Linked DNA regions of Homo sapiens: all the other regions are linked to region 3. The links are contacts of gene promoters, found by promoter capture Hi-C in human tissues and cell types (Jung and others, 2019). All regions are on one chromosome and are shown on one strand. The core of a region is centred on a gene start or on the middle of the fragment in contact, and the rest is flanking DNA. Distances in the headings are between cores, read along the strand shown.

Region 1 (2,700 bases), core at 179-2,678, 400 kb after region 3:
AGTATCTATTCAAACGCTCATTGCAAATTTCTCCACATTTGACATATATACTTCAACATCTGCTCTCTGAACTTGTGGCATTTTTCCAGTTTTACTGTAGACAGCCTCAGATTCTGAAATTTTTTGTCCTTTTCTTCTTTTTATTGGGTTTTCTGGAAAATAGGCCCTTTTTTCCACAGGCAGTCTAGGACTATTTTCCTGAAAATTAGATATAATGAAGGATAACCTAATAAGAGTTGTTACACTCTTGGGGTTAGTGTAATGTAATAGAAAAAGCACCAGAATGTGAGTCAGACAAGCTGAATTTTAACTAGGATTCTGTCACATACCAGCTCTGTGGCCTTGGTTAAATCACCAAATACTCTGAGCCTCAGTTTCTTTACAAAGTTTTTGTGAGAATTAAATAAAGAACCTGCATGAAATCATGAGTAAGTTACATGAGAAGTATAAATCAGAATGCTAGCGATTATTTATTTAAAATGAACTATGGGGCTAAAGAAAGTAAGGTTACTACATTAAGGAACTAGGAACCAGTCCTTCCATCATGCTCAGCTCTGGTTAGGCCTGTGCTCAAGTTCTCTGCCCCATTTGTCAATTCCTGTTAATACATGATTCATTGAAACCTTGGTTGATATAAAATATTCTAGTGACTTGGGGATGGTGGGAGATAAGAAGAGAAGGGATTTCAAAATATATGTTAAATAGGAGTTTTGCTTTCAAGTATTTACCTTTGAAAATTTGAAAATAATTGAAAATAATTCAGAGGAGATTTATATATATATTATTAGGGGTTAGGAAGTAGTTCTTACACCAAACAGTAAAGAAAAACTGATGGTATTTTTCTTTGAGGAGAAAAGTCTGAAAGAAGATTTAATATTCCATTACTTGTGATACAATGGAGATTAATAACCAACCAAGATTCTTTGTCTCCAATAATTATAGGGCAAATGAAAACTGGCTTTAGTTGCATCAGTAGTAATCTCCAGAGAGTGAAAACAGGGTCGGACATCTTTGTAAGGAAGAGTCACCCACTTGTGATCTCAGGGATTGATGCCATAATTTCCATATACAAATTTTATGGTTTGACAAAAAATATTTTGTCACCCATGAGGAGGCAGTCACCCAAGAAAGAGATAGTATAACAATTAAAAATTTGAGAGAATGAGTTACTGGAGAAGGCTACGGGATACTGGATTCTTGAAGGGGGAAGAAGTTTATATCAGGTAGAGGGGAAAGATTCAACATATGGAGTCCAGGGGCCCATCTACCCCTCCATTTTATTGAGATCCAACCCTCAGTAGGAGCTACTAGCCACTGACTGGCTATTGACTGAGATGATATAATCACCTTTCGGCACACTTTAAAAGCTGAACAAATAATTTACAGGTATCTTACATTATTTCCCAAACTTCCTGACAACCATTTAGTATGGTGGCTACATCAAAATGGTTTGAGCAAGCACTGCTCCAGATAGTCCTAGAATCACAGCTTCAGAATCACCTGGGAGCTTGTCAGAAATGAAAATTCATGGGCACCACCTAGACCTGCTAAATTAGTGTCTCTGCAAATGGAGTCCCAGCATTCTGTGTTTCCATATGCTCTCCAGATGAGTTTTATGCATGATAAAGTTTGAAAAACCACTGATATTGATTACTCTTTACTTGTGAAGAATATATATGAGCTTCTTGTATTTATTTTTCGACTCAACATATACCCATGTGCAAACAACCAAAAAGCAGAGTAAAATGGGGTTTTGCATTATCCGTCGATTTTTCTATTTTTGAGCCAATCTCTTAATAGCATTTATTAGAGTCACTTTTGCCATACAATAGATTGCCAAGATCATGATTAAGAAGCTTATTAAAATGAATTTAAAATGTTTAAATGGAAACGACCTGGAGATGTAATTGCCAAAATTTAATCAAGCATTTAATTTGTAGCTCATACCAGCCAAATGGATTTTCCTTTTTTTCAGTTCCCTGTTTGTACAAGGAAATTAAAAAGTATGGAATCACAGGCCAAGCAGTGAACCCTTGATACTGCAGTGTGCTCACTTACTCTCATTAGCCGTATTATATCATCCTACTCCTTTGGAATTTTAGTTTCCCAAGCCAGTCTAGAGGATAGATAACAATTGACTGTATATATACACAATGGGTGAGTTAATATGCTTTAGCAATAATTTATACTACTTGACTGTATATATATATATATATATTATACATAGTGTTATAAATTACTGCTAAAACATATTGACTCACCCCATCAGCATTAATAAAATAGGCTAAATATTCTGATCTTAATTCTGCTTGTTTAAAATTCCCTTGTTTTAGCATGCCTGTCTAGCTGCCCTTAAATTGCTAAACTGGGGAGAAGTGTGATTTAGAATTGGAACATATTTCATGTGAATTTGATGATGGCCACCGCTGATAAAATACCTTTGTGTTGCCTCTTCCATTCTGCCAGTGATAATAGGTTTTCACTGAGCTCTTTGCACTTGTTTTACAAAGGCTCAAGCCTTGAATACTTTGTGCCTCACAGTATCCATCATTTAGACTCTGAAATCCCCAGTGTCGATTTGACAGAACAGTCGTTTATCAGCCACGGTTTGCCAAGTCAGCATTAATGCCTATGTGGCCTGAGGAAAAAAATAAATAAGATCAGTGATGTTCTAATCAAGCTCAGACAAACATGTTTTTA
Region 2 (2,700 bases), core at 157-2,656, 430 kb before region 3:
CAAGATCCAAATTTTTGGTAAGGAAACTGCCTGGCAGGCTTGGGTCATCTGGAGGACAAGGCCCCTGAATTGCTATGTAGTGAGGGTGGAGGAGTTTCTCAAAGGAATCTGCTATTGTTATAAAAAAAATGTGAGAATGGGAACTAGGCAAGCCACTCAACAGATACTCATTACAGATATTTCTAGCTCCAGTATTCTGAGTCTAACATTCTGCATGGACCTCAGACCTGGCACAGCAATGGGAAATCCTGAAGCAGCAAGCTAAAAGATAGGGCTGGTGCTTTCTGGAGACCTCCTGGCTGTTTCCTTCTACGCACAGCTGTGGGACTTTTCTCTTATCCAGACTGGAATAGTTTTCCTTTGGGTGATTAAAGGAGTTGTATGTGCCCAGAACTATGTGTGCTTTCACAAACACAACTGTTGGTCATGTATGTCCCTGTTCATGCCGTGAAGCGTGAGGTTTTCCTTGAGAAAGGGCCACTCCTGCCTGCTCACTAACAAAGCCAAGAAGTATACAGCAAAATATGTTAGGATGTCACATTGGACATCCTCCCTTTTCTCCCATAGTTTTATAAGTGATTATAAAGACAAGCCCATGCCCGAATTTTGCCCTATTGGCTCTATGCACCATTTGTTTTTATGAGCATTTTGCTCATGTGGGAAAAATGGCTATGCATTTCTCGGGCTCTCGCCCTGTTATGTTTTTCTCCTCTTGATTCTACCAGTTAATCACAAAAAACAACCCTTCTGAATGTGGGGTTTTCCCCTGGCATGTGTCTGTGCTATGGAACCAGTAGCTCATAATGGCCAGTCTGTGAGGGGAAGTTGGTGTGAATGCTGGCTTATTTAATGTGCATGTGAGGGAAGAAGAGGTTTCAGAGGCCTTTTAAAAGGATTGTGCTGATATCTTAAGAATCATCTGGTGCCTCATAATATTTGCTAATCAAACCACAGAAAACATGGAGAGGCTGGGAGGTTCAGTGGTTACAGTACCCACATGCCCATCAAGCAGGCTTGTCCCAGCGTTAACCATTAACTGTCTTTTTCACACATCCTGGGTAACTTGCTCTTTCTTTCATTTCAACTTATGATAGAGACATCAATAATTATCCCACAAAGTTGTAATTAAAATAGTCAGCAGAACAAGGCCAAAATAGCCAATATCAATAAGAAAATTAATTGGTCTTAGATCTGAAAGAGCATCGAGTTGCTGAGTGCAATATTAGAGATAAGTTCATGTTTGCAGGAGTAGGAAGGCTTGTGAGGTGCTCTTGTGAGAAGAACAGATAACAATGGCATCATCTTTTATGAAAGGGGTTATATTCTAGTGTCCTAATGGAAGGTAGAAATTGCATACAATTAAGATAACCTTTAGAAATCTCTGAAATATTACATGGGGTTTTGTATGTACACATATGCGGCAATATAATATGTAGTATAAATAATATGTAACATTAGATAACATTCACATTATAATAATTATGTACTATGCATATATAATGTGTAATATATATTATATTTTATATGTAATATGTTCTATAACATATATGTAGTGCATTATAAATATAGTAGTCCCCCTTATCCACAGGGGATACATTCCAAAAGCCCTAGTGGATACCTGAAACCATAAATAATACCAAACCATATATATATATATACTGTTTTCTCCTATACATACATACCTATGATGAAGTTTAATTTGTAAATTTGGCACAGTAAGAGATTAACAATAATTAGTAATAGAAAAGTTAAAACAATATACTATAATAAAAATTATGTGAATGTGGTCTCTCTCTCTCTCTCAAAATATCTTATTGTATGTAATATTTCCAGATTGTGGTTGACAGTGGGTGGGGATGGGAGTGAAGACACAAATAAGGGGAAACTGACGTACTTGTGTATTATACACACAAGTAAATATATCCTTGTGTTTATAATATATAAATCTAAGTAATACATATACACATATATATAACATATTGTATATATTATATAAATATATACTATATATTTATAAGGTATTACCTATATAATAATATACAATTGATATTAGTTAAGTTTATATTATATATGAACTTTACAAGTTTATAATGTTATAAACATACATATGTAGCATTTGTATTTGAATACATGTTCAAAATATAATTTCACAGAATTTTAATTATGTAAGCAAATCTGCTTATATTTGAATTCCCAGAAGTTATGGCACATGTGATTATCTTCTTTTTACCTCAAAGCCTTACTTGTAGAGTAGAAAGTACCTTCTCTTGGTTCCTTTTGGAATTCCCTCATTTTATCCCGGTATACAGGTATAGTCTAAGCTCAGCATTTGGTGCTATGCTGGCTTTTCTGCCCAAATGCTATGAATTTAAGCTATGCATAGATATAAAATATGTGGTCATGTTTGAAGTTTGGTTCTTTACCAATCTTAGTTTAGACCTGAGTAATTTGGGAGCACAAGAAGCCAAAGAAATTTTTAATCTGCTAGAAGTGTCTTCAAGAATGGCAATTGTTAAGTATCCATTCAAAGAAAAACTGAGTATTCCTGGCAGATGGATGATATTTTAAATCCTCATAATTTATTTACTCTTATTTTAGCCATCATAAAAATTTTAGTGTATCAATTATACACAAAACTGAATATTAAAAGCCAGAGAAGAAACACGCTGACATGTACTTATTTTGAGCCCAGTCACCTCA
Region 3 (2,700 bases), core at 46-2,545:
TTTTTATCCAAGGAACACGTATGCACTCACACAGCTTCCAGAAACCAGTTCCCCTCGGTGGAAGCCAGTTGCTTTAGGGGTGGTGCGGCTTGTATGTGGATGGACACCATGTGTGCACTGAGCCCAAATTCTCTGTTCTTCTTGACTAGGAAGCTGGATTTGTACCAGGGACCTTTTATCTAAATAGGAGACTCTGGGCTCAGGAGAACAGAGCCGACTTGACAAAGTAGAAAAGAGCTCAGTATTGGTCTGCCCACGCTTTGGGCATGCGTGAGCACTCGCAGCAAAACACAGCTGGCACATCTAATTTTAGCCTCGCCCGCCTTGAAAAGGGACCCTTTAAGGAAATATATTTTATCTGAAACAATTTGTATTATAATGTAGCAGCTGATAGACATGACAGAATATTATCATTGGTGGGAAAAAACTCTGCCAAGCAATTATGATTTTTGTTCTTTTTTTTTTAGATGATATCAGTAAAGTGATTAAAGCATCAATGCAACAAAATAATCATAAAGAGAGAGACAATGGGAGAAACAGATTTTATCTGTAAAATATCTGACGAACCTAAGGGGTCACTTCCTTTGATTTTTTTTTTTTTTTTTTTTACAAAATGGATGTATTTTAAAAAAGTTATTATTTTTGATATGTTCAGTTGATCAGTCCAATCTGATGACATGTGGCATTAATAGTAGTCCTGGAGTAGACCCTAAAATTTCTTCAATACTTAACATCCACCAAGTTTTCCAGGTAGTAAAAGGTTAGTTTCTCAATCAGCTCTTGGATGCGTCTGGCTCTAGCGTGTTAACAGATTTTGAAAGCATCCGGGACTTACTTTTTTCCCCTTTAACCAGCAAGGTTAGTTCCCCTGCCTTTATTTCTTTTCCTTTCTCCTCCTTCCTTCTTTCGTCCTCTCTTCCCTCTCTTCTGTGTTTTGTTTAGCAGTGTGGCTTACCTTGGAACTTGGCAAAAAGAGGAACAAAAAGCAGCTCTTGTGTGGGGTAGATGGAGGAGGGATAAGAAATAATCCACCGCCCGCATTTGAGTTCTTCAGGTTCAGTTCCAGCGGCAGCAGCGTTGCTGCAAAAATCGCTTGCTATTCGAGATAGCCAGCAGAGGGAATCGGAACTTTGCTTGCAGCAGGGGTTGAAGCAGCCTTTTTTTTTTTTTTTCTTGGAGGAAATACTGCAGCCTTCTGGACTGCGTACGCTGCTCCCTGGAGAGGCTCTCTCGGTTCCACCCACCGGCTGGAAGGAGGGGAAGTGAATGAAAGGACAGGACAAGCCCCGAACACCATGTCACTCTGGGAGGGAGACAGCAGCAACTAAGCTGTACAAGGTTTTTTTTTTTTTTTTTTCTTCCTTTTTTTCTTTTTTTTTTTCTTTTTCCCCTTTCTTTTTCTTTCTTTCTTTCTTTTTCTTTCTTTCTTTCTCTTTCTCTCTCTCTTTTTTCTTTTTCTTTAAGGTGGGGAAAGAGACAACCAAGAGACAGGAAGCTGATCTGCAAGGATTCGGAGTTGTGCTAAAAGGACTTTGATTTTTTTCCCCCTTTACGAACGCTGGCAATTGACATCACTACAGACAGCCTGGTTAGAGAACAAACTGCCTCATCCCAAGTGGACCCCGGCAGCTGGGGGAAGCCAGGCAAGATCTGGGAAGGCTGTGTGTGGGTGTTTTTTCTACAGATCTCACTCCTCGCCCTTTTTTTTTTTCCTTTGGTGTGTGTTTTTTGTTTTGTTTTGTTTTTTAAAAAAATTCTTGCTGTGTTGGAACTAGCGAGTGGTGGAGTCTCTGAAGCCTCATCAGTCACCGGGACTGTCAGGAATAGTGGTTTAAGAGGAAGCTCGGCCTGGGGCACTATACCCTGTCATCCAGTTCCCTGCCTCGGAGATAAAGATTCCAGCTACATGGGCAAACGCCTGGATCAGCCACAAATGTACCCCCAGTACACTTACTACTATCCTCATTATCTCCAAACCAAGGTATGGCTTGACCCACGGTCTGGCGATCAGCGTGGTATCGTTCTGCACTTGGGATGGGAAACAGACAGGCGTGTGAATTATTAGTTAACCCCCACCCCCATCACTTCTTCCTGCTTCTTTGAAATTAGTGACATACCAATGGAGTTAATGAGGCAGAGGAAGACATAAGAAGAAAGCAGCAAACCCGGAATTGTAGCTTTCTCTTTAAGGAGAGATAATAGTTTCACTTGAGTTCAGTTTCTTTGTTGTTATTTGGCAGCATAAATGGTCCTGATATCAGGAACGTCTTTTGCAGATGGGCACGGTTTTTAGAAAGCAGATCACAACAGTGATTACCAGGCACAAGAATATAATTTCAGGGGCTTTTCTGGTGAGCTGTTCTTTGATTGTGGCTCTAAAAGGGTTTTTCCCACTGGATAGGACGTGCAACGGTGGGGGTAACTCAAACTTTTAATCGCAGGGTATAGAATGAAAGAAGGGTGTGAGAAGGTATAGGGCTCCTACCAGAGTCTCTGAGAGTTTATTTTTATTTTTAATTTGCCTTGCCTATTTTATTTTATGTTGAGGATGATCAGCATGCTACAGACTGCTTTACAATAGATGTTCTTTACTTTTAGAAGATCTATTTTTCTGTGTAGCTGCCATGAGGAGGCCTGAGTCTTGAAAAGGAATGAAATGTAACTGATCATAATTGGACTTGAATTGGTTAAATACTTTAG
Region 4 (2,700 bases), core at 9-2,508, 340 kb after region 3:
GAATCCTGAGAAAATATTTCTGTAAGTTAAAATAAGGGTGAATAATGGTGAGGATAGCTTACAGTTCCAGAAAACAAATGGAAAATTTTGGAGATATTAAAGGCAAGAATAAATTTAATAATTTTTTTCTTGGCTAGCATGAACTTTTATATTTTGGATTGGATCCTTTAATGCTTAGATTAACATGCCATCCTTATTTTTATTGACATATTTGTATGTGCCACTTACAATTCTAGGATGTTACAACAAATTTTTTTATACATTCCAGGTTGCATATTCTATGTAATTGGCTACTTTTCAATGACTTGTTTGCACAATTTTTGAGTCTTCACTTTAGCCCCTGATTTCTCTTTCATATATTGAAGTTTAAGCTTATATCTCACTTCTCATTGAAGTCGCCAGTAACTTTAAATCATGACTAAGAGAATCTTAGGGGCTACAATTACGATAAAACTCTTATGACATGGGTCACTGTTCTTTAATTGAGGTGGTCCACTTACTGTGTAAATGTTTTAAAAAATCAATTAGAATAATATTTATATTATCTTTATGTACTTGATTTTCATATTGGCATTTAAAAGTGTGTTTTAACTAAAATTTTATTTTGCACCAATTCCATAAGTTAACTTTGGCATCCTCTAAAGAAATTTCACTTACAGAGAAAAAAAAATGTGTCTAATTAACTTTTTCCTTAGAGTTGTTTGTTTATAAGTCATCCTAGAACTCATTCCCTGGCTATTTTGAAATTTTTTCAGCAATCTAAATTTACTAGTTTAGTCTTTTTAAAAACGTTATCTTTTTAGGGAATTGAATTTTACGGTTTTACTAATAACTGAAATACTGTGATTAACCAATTACTTTATTATTGTTTTTAATTGTGATAAAATATGCATACCAATTATTTTAATATCTGAACATATCTATTAAGACTAAGAAATAGAATATTTCTTGTTTTTAAATGAAGTGCTCTATTCCATGCCCTTAAGTCATACCTAGGAAACCCATAGCTCATAAAGGCTGCTGGAACATGCAGGCCCATGTCAGAATTAAACCAATAGAGGGTCTCTGAAACTTGAATTTTCATCTTGGTGAGTCTTCTGGGGTTATTTATTCATGTGTTCTTGCTCCAAATGTCTGCTTCTTTTTTTTTTTTGCTTTTATTGGGTGAAAGACAGCATAATAATTCTATGTATTTAAATGCAACTGATATAATACATAATGGGGCAGAACTTTAAACTCTTATGCCCTCTGAAAACATTGTAAAGGCTGGAATGAAAACGTAAATGCAGGCACTCATGTAGTTATAAAGGATGAACTTTCGAAAATTGAAACAGTCTTCTCTTCAGAAAGATGCTCAGTGATTTGTGTGCAAGATAGGGCTGGAACAAGGGACTCCTGACTATCAGGGACTCTGCAGATTATTTGTAGTTGTCTCTCTGTTGTTGATCAAATAATGAATGTAAAAGATGGTTGTTATATCTGTAGAGAGCCTCATTGTATTTTGTATTAAACCTTTCAATAAAAGTGAATAGTTTTACTTCCATTAGTTGGAAAGGACAACCTATAACTTATCAGAAGTCTCCTGACAGCATAATACCAAGTTCTAGAATGAAAATAAAATGCCTACAAATATTTGGTTTGGTTAAGATTAAAGATGCCTGGTTCAAGCATGCTACTTTGTTGTGGCAGTAAAATGTATGCACAATGCCATTTAAACAACAGAAAAAAAAGGATGAAAGAAAAAAAAAGTTTCTCAGGTAACAGAGGAAATCTGAAAAGATATCATATACCTGTAGAAAAAAGAAAAAAACCCACTTTATGGAATTAGCTCCAATCTTCAATTTGGGATGCCTAATCTAGTCTTCGCTTTTGCTGTAGGAGAATCTACATATACTTGTGGAAAACTTATACTTCAGGCACTGGCAAGGTCCTAGGGATGAAATAAAAAATAAGATTTCGCTTCTGTGTTCTTCATTTATAAGACCATAGTGCCTTCATTTATAAAATTAAAGGATCCGGTGAACTCTAAACTCTTCCAGCTCTAAAATTTCATGGAAAAAAAATCAATGAATATATTCATGTATTCCTCCTACAAATATTTATTATAATTTAGAAACTGTGCTGTAGGTATTGATTATAGAGTAAACAAGGCATAAAATGTTCCTGCCCTTATAGGGCTTACATCTGGGGAAGTGAAGACAGAGCCTGAAAAAATATCCAAATAAATATAATATAATTTTGCATTGTAAAAAATTTCGTGAAGAAAAAGAAGCACATAGGGTGATGTGATATTCCTGGAAGATCTATGTGTATTACCAGAATACAGATTGGAGGACAAGCTCTGTTCTGAGCTTGTGTTGTTGAGAGTGTGCATGGGCAATTAGTTTTTATAATATGAATCTAAATATAGTTTATAAAATAAATGCATGAAGACATTTTGAGAGACAGCCTTACATAATATACTCATGAGAATTATTCAGTAAAATAATCTTCTATCAGATGAAATGTACAATAAAATTGGCTTGTTGAACGTCATTGTCCTATATAGTGGTAGCATCTATGATGTAAAACATTGTCTAGGAGAGGACCTGAATCTTAGGTGAATAGTAAGTGCCATAAAAGTAATGCCAAACATGAAGACACAATGTGTAGTGATGGAGGGCACAGACTGTGGAGCCAGACTGCCCCAGTTCACATTCC
Region 5 (2,700 bases), core at 132-2,631, 290 kb after region 3:
ATAAATGCACCATAAAGAAAAAACTTCTGGCTTGTGACACTGTTTGTGAATTTTTGTGTGTTTGAAAACATTTCCAAGGTCATGTTTTTAAGGGCAGGACTTGAAAACAGTGATTTCACTATGGAATTCTGGCATTCTCTAAACAGGACTTCTTTGTGAGCACCCTTGATCTTGGTATTTTTTGTCTCTTCAAGATGAGCTATGAGCTCACCTATTTTTGTTTTCCTTCTGCTGAGCAATACTGTTCCTGGGCTCTTTTGTTAAGTCACAATAAACTAGGCAAGCAACCAGGAGGTCCTTGACACAAAGTCCTTTATTGATCTGAAAACCACACTGTGCTAACCTCACCTTAAAATCCTATAGCATAAATCTCTAGTTCCTCAAAAACAGCCAAAGTATTAACACCAAAACACTAGATATCCTTGTTTTCAATGCATATTTGACAATTTAGAAAAGGTAGTTCTTTATGAAAAAAATTGTTTTCTTTTTAGTTTTAAACTTTTATGTCCAACATCTTCCAGGTCTCTCTTGAAGATAAATGTTTTGCCCTTTTGTGCCAAAGAGCACAAAAATACAGTCAGGCCAATGTCATGATTGTAGGGTTGGAGTTGCAAATTTAAAAGATTCTATGATGCTCCTTAAATTATAATATAAAAGTATTTTATAATAAGAGAGGCAAGGAATTGTGTATCAGAGAGTTATGAGAATTATAATGCCTGAAGTTATATATGTGACCAAATGAAAGGCTTTTAATTTGTTAGGAATTTGCTCATTCATTCACTTACTTATTGACTCGTTCATTCAATGGCTAGTATGAGCCAGAATGTGTGGTAAGATGATATAGTTACAAACAAAACCATTCTGTTCTCTATGATCTTGGCACTTACAGCCTCTTAGGGTAAAATATAATAATCATATAAACAAATAAAATAATCCACAAATTATGCCCACTGCAATGAAGGACATTAACAGCATGCTGTGATAGACACTAATGGAGGAGAAGAATTCAGCTCCTGTACAATCCTGGGGAGTGAGTGCTCCAGTCAAAAGCAACAGCAGGTGCAAAAGCCTCAATGTGGCCAAAATATAGTAAAGCAGTAGAAGAGTAGCATGCAAATTGATGTAAAAATTGTGAAGCTCTACGTAACACATAGGTGATGTTGCCTGTCCTGCACTGTTCTACATGATACCTTCCCCAGTGTCTCCACTTTGGTCAAGATTACATGTCCCCGTTAATTGCTTGAATTCACCCTTTACTTACCTGTCCCCAAATATTTGTTCATACTTGAATGCTATTTCTCCCTCATGTCTAAATGTTGTCATTCTGCAAAGCAAAATGCAAAAAAAAAAAAAAAAAAAATTAGGGAAAAAGAGTATACATTGTGCGATTCAATTAATGGAAGATTCTAGAAAATGCCAAATTCATCTGTAATGACAGATGCCTGGTTGCTGGGGGTGTGTGTGGAGGTGGCTGCAAAGAGGTACAAATGGAATTTGGGGGATGATGAAAGAGTTCTGTATCTTGATCGTTATGGTGGTTATGCAGGTGGATTATCTGTCAAAACTCAACAAACTGTACACTGAAATGGCATTTATCATATGCAAGTTATATCTTAAATAAGTTGATTAAAAAGTTATAGAATAAGAAAAACAATAAAAAGCTTAAATTCATCTTCTCCATTATCTCTCTAATAAGAAATAACCTTTCTTTCTATCATCATGGCATGTACTGTTCATGTGTTATAGGTTTTTGTATTTGTGATAAGCATACCACATAGAGCCCTCAGTGAATGTCATGATGTTAAAGTGACTATTTCTTCATTGGGTTTGCATATTACCTTATGAGAGAAATCACGTCTCATTTGTACTTTTCTCCCCCCACAGCACCTAGCTTAGAATACATAAAAGAACCTCACTGAGCATTTGGTAAATCAATAGCAATATTTTTATATTTACATCCTGACTGGTTCCCAAAAAGGATGAGCAGGAAAAGAAATTGATTTCCAGGAGTTGATAAATGAATAGACTGTTCTTGGCACTGGAGCCCACATCCTGTCTCCATATGTAAAAATTGGTGGTAGAAAAGGGTTTTCAACCTACCTTCTTCACACTCATGCTTACTTACTGATTTAATGAAATGCTTGTGATGGTTTCTGTGTTCTCCAGTAGGTAAACGCTATACAGACCCTCTGCATTATCCTTCTTAATAGTCCATTATTCCTCTGTAGAGAGTCCAGTGGTAGAATCAGCGTTGTCAAGCTGCAAGGAGGGGACACAAAAGTGTTATAGGAAGGTGACATTTATGCCCCATTATGAGTGAAGGAAAATCGAAGGAGCAATAGTGGTCTATTGCATAACTGCCCCTGTTGGGTTGTTATGAGGAGAACTGTGTAAATCAGCCCTCGTGCTTATCCTTGAGAAATTCTTTTTCCCCTTTCCTCATAGCCTCTCTCTGTGCAATTTTTGGTGTTCTCAACTGGCCGATTACCTAGAATATTAGCTTTTCAAAATATGACACAGAAGTTCACCAATTCCTTCCAACTCATAACACTTTAAAATTGCAATTCCAAATTATTCCTGTAAAAATAGCTGATCTTTATGACTCCTAGGGGATTTCTTATTTTAATCTGAAACCTTCAGAAATGGTTCAGTTTTGTGAAAATGATGGGGGAATGTCTGCCCTTAGCAGTTTTTGTGTTC

Evidence for each region. Contacts are between HindIII fragments. The study calls those that stand out against the background at their distance.
Region 1: a fragment that was not itself captured here is called in contact with the fragment with the promoter of RBMS3 in region 3 in 1 of the 25 tissues and cell types used here (dorsolateral prefrontal cortex).
Region 2: a fragment that was not itself captured here is called in contact with the fragment with the promoter of RBMS3 in region 3 in 1 of the 25 tissues and cell types used here (dorsolateral prefrontal cortex).
Region 4: a contact is called between a fragment that was not itself captured here and the fragment with the promoter of RBMS3 in region 3, in 1 of the 25 tissues and cell types used here (dorsolateral prefrontal cortex).
Region 5: a contact is called between a fragment that was not itself captured here and the fragment with the promoter of RBMS3 in region 3, in 1 of the 25 tissues and cell types used here (dorsolateral prefrontal cortex).

What each region holds. Positions count from the first base shown.
Region 1 is chr3:29,677,570-29,680,269 of GRCh38, forward strand. All of the region lies in intron 4 of RBMS3 (RNA binding motif single stranded interacting protein 3), which reads left to right. Among named protein-coding and RNA genes, the nearest start is that of RBMS3-AS2, 36 kb to the left of the region's middle. The HindIII fragment of the contact is 4,527 bases long and covers 1-2,700 here.
Region 2 is chr3:28,850,206-28,852,905 of GRCh38, forward strand. No RefSeq gene overlaps it. Among named protein-coding and RNA genes, the nearest start is that of LINC00693, 280 kb to the left of the region's middle. The HindIII fragment of the contact is 5,508 bases long and covers 1-2,700 here.
Region 3 is chr3:29,279,776-29,282,475 of GRCh38, forward strand. It overlaps RBMS3 (RNA binding motif single stranded interacting protein 3), which reads left to right and starts at 1,296. Exons shown (of 15, transcript NM_001003793.3): 1 at 1,296-1,981. The coding sequence starts at 1,907. RBMS3-AS3 (RBMS3 antisense RNA 3) reads right to left here and starts at 1,164. Exons shown (of 3, transcript NR_109804.1): 1 at 956-1,164. RefSeq lists an enhancer at 151-200. The HindIII fragment of the contact is 9,133 bases long and covers 1-2,700 here.
Region 4 is chr3:29,620,047-29,622,746 of GRCh38, forward strand. All of the region lies in intron 4 of RBMS3 (RNA binding motif single stranded interacting protein 3), which reads left to right. All of the region lies in intron 2 of RBMS3-AS2 (RBMS3 antisense RNA 2), which reads right to left. Among named protein-coding and RNA genes, the nearest start is that of RBMS3-AS2, 21 kb to the right of the region's middle. The HindIII fragment of the contact is 3,202 bases long and covers 1-2,700 here.
Region 5 is chr3:29,565,295-29,567,994 of GRCh38, forward strand. The region is part of intron 3 of RBMS3 (RNA binding motif single stranded interacting protein 3); the gene reads left to right. Among named protein-coding and RNA genes, the nearest start is that of RBMS3-AS2, 76 kb to the right of the region's middle. The HindIII fragment of the contact is 4,920 bases long and covers 1-2,700 here.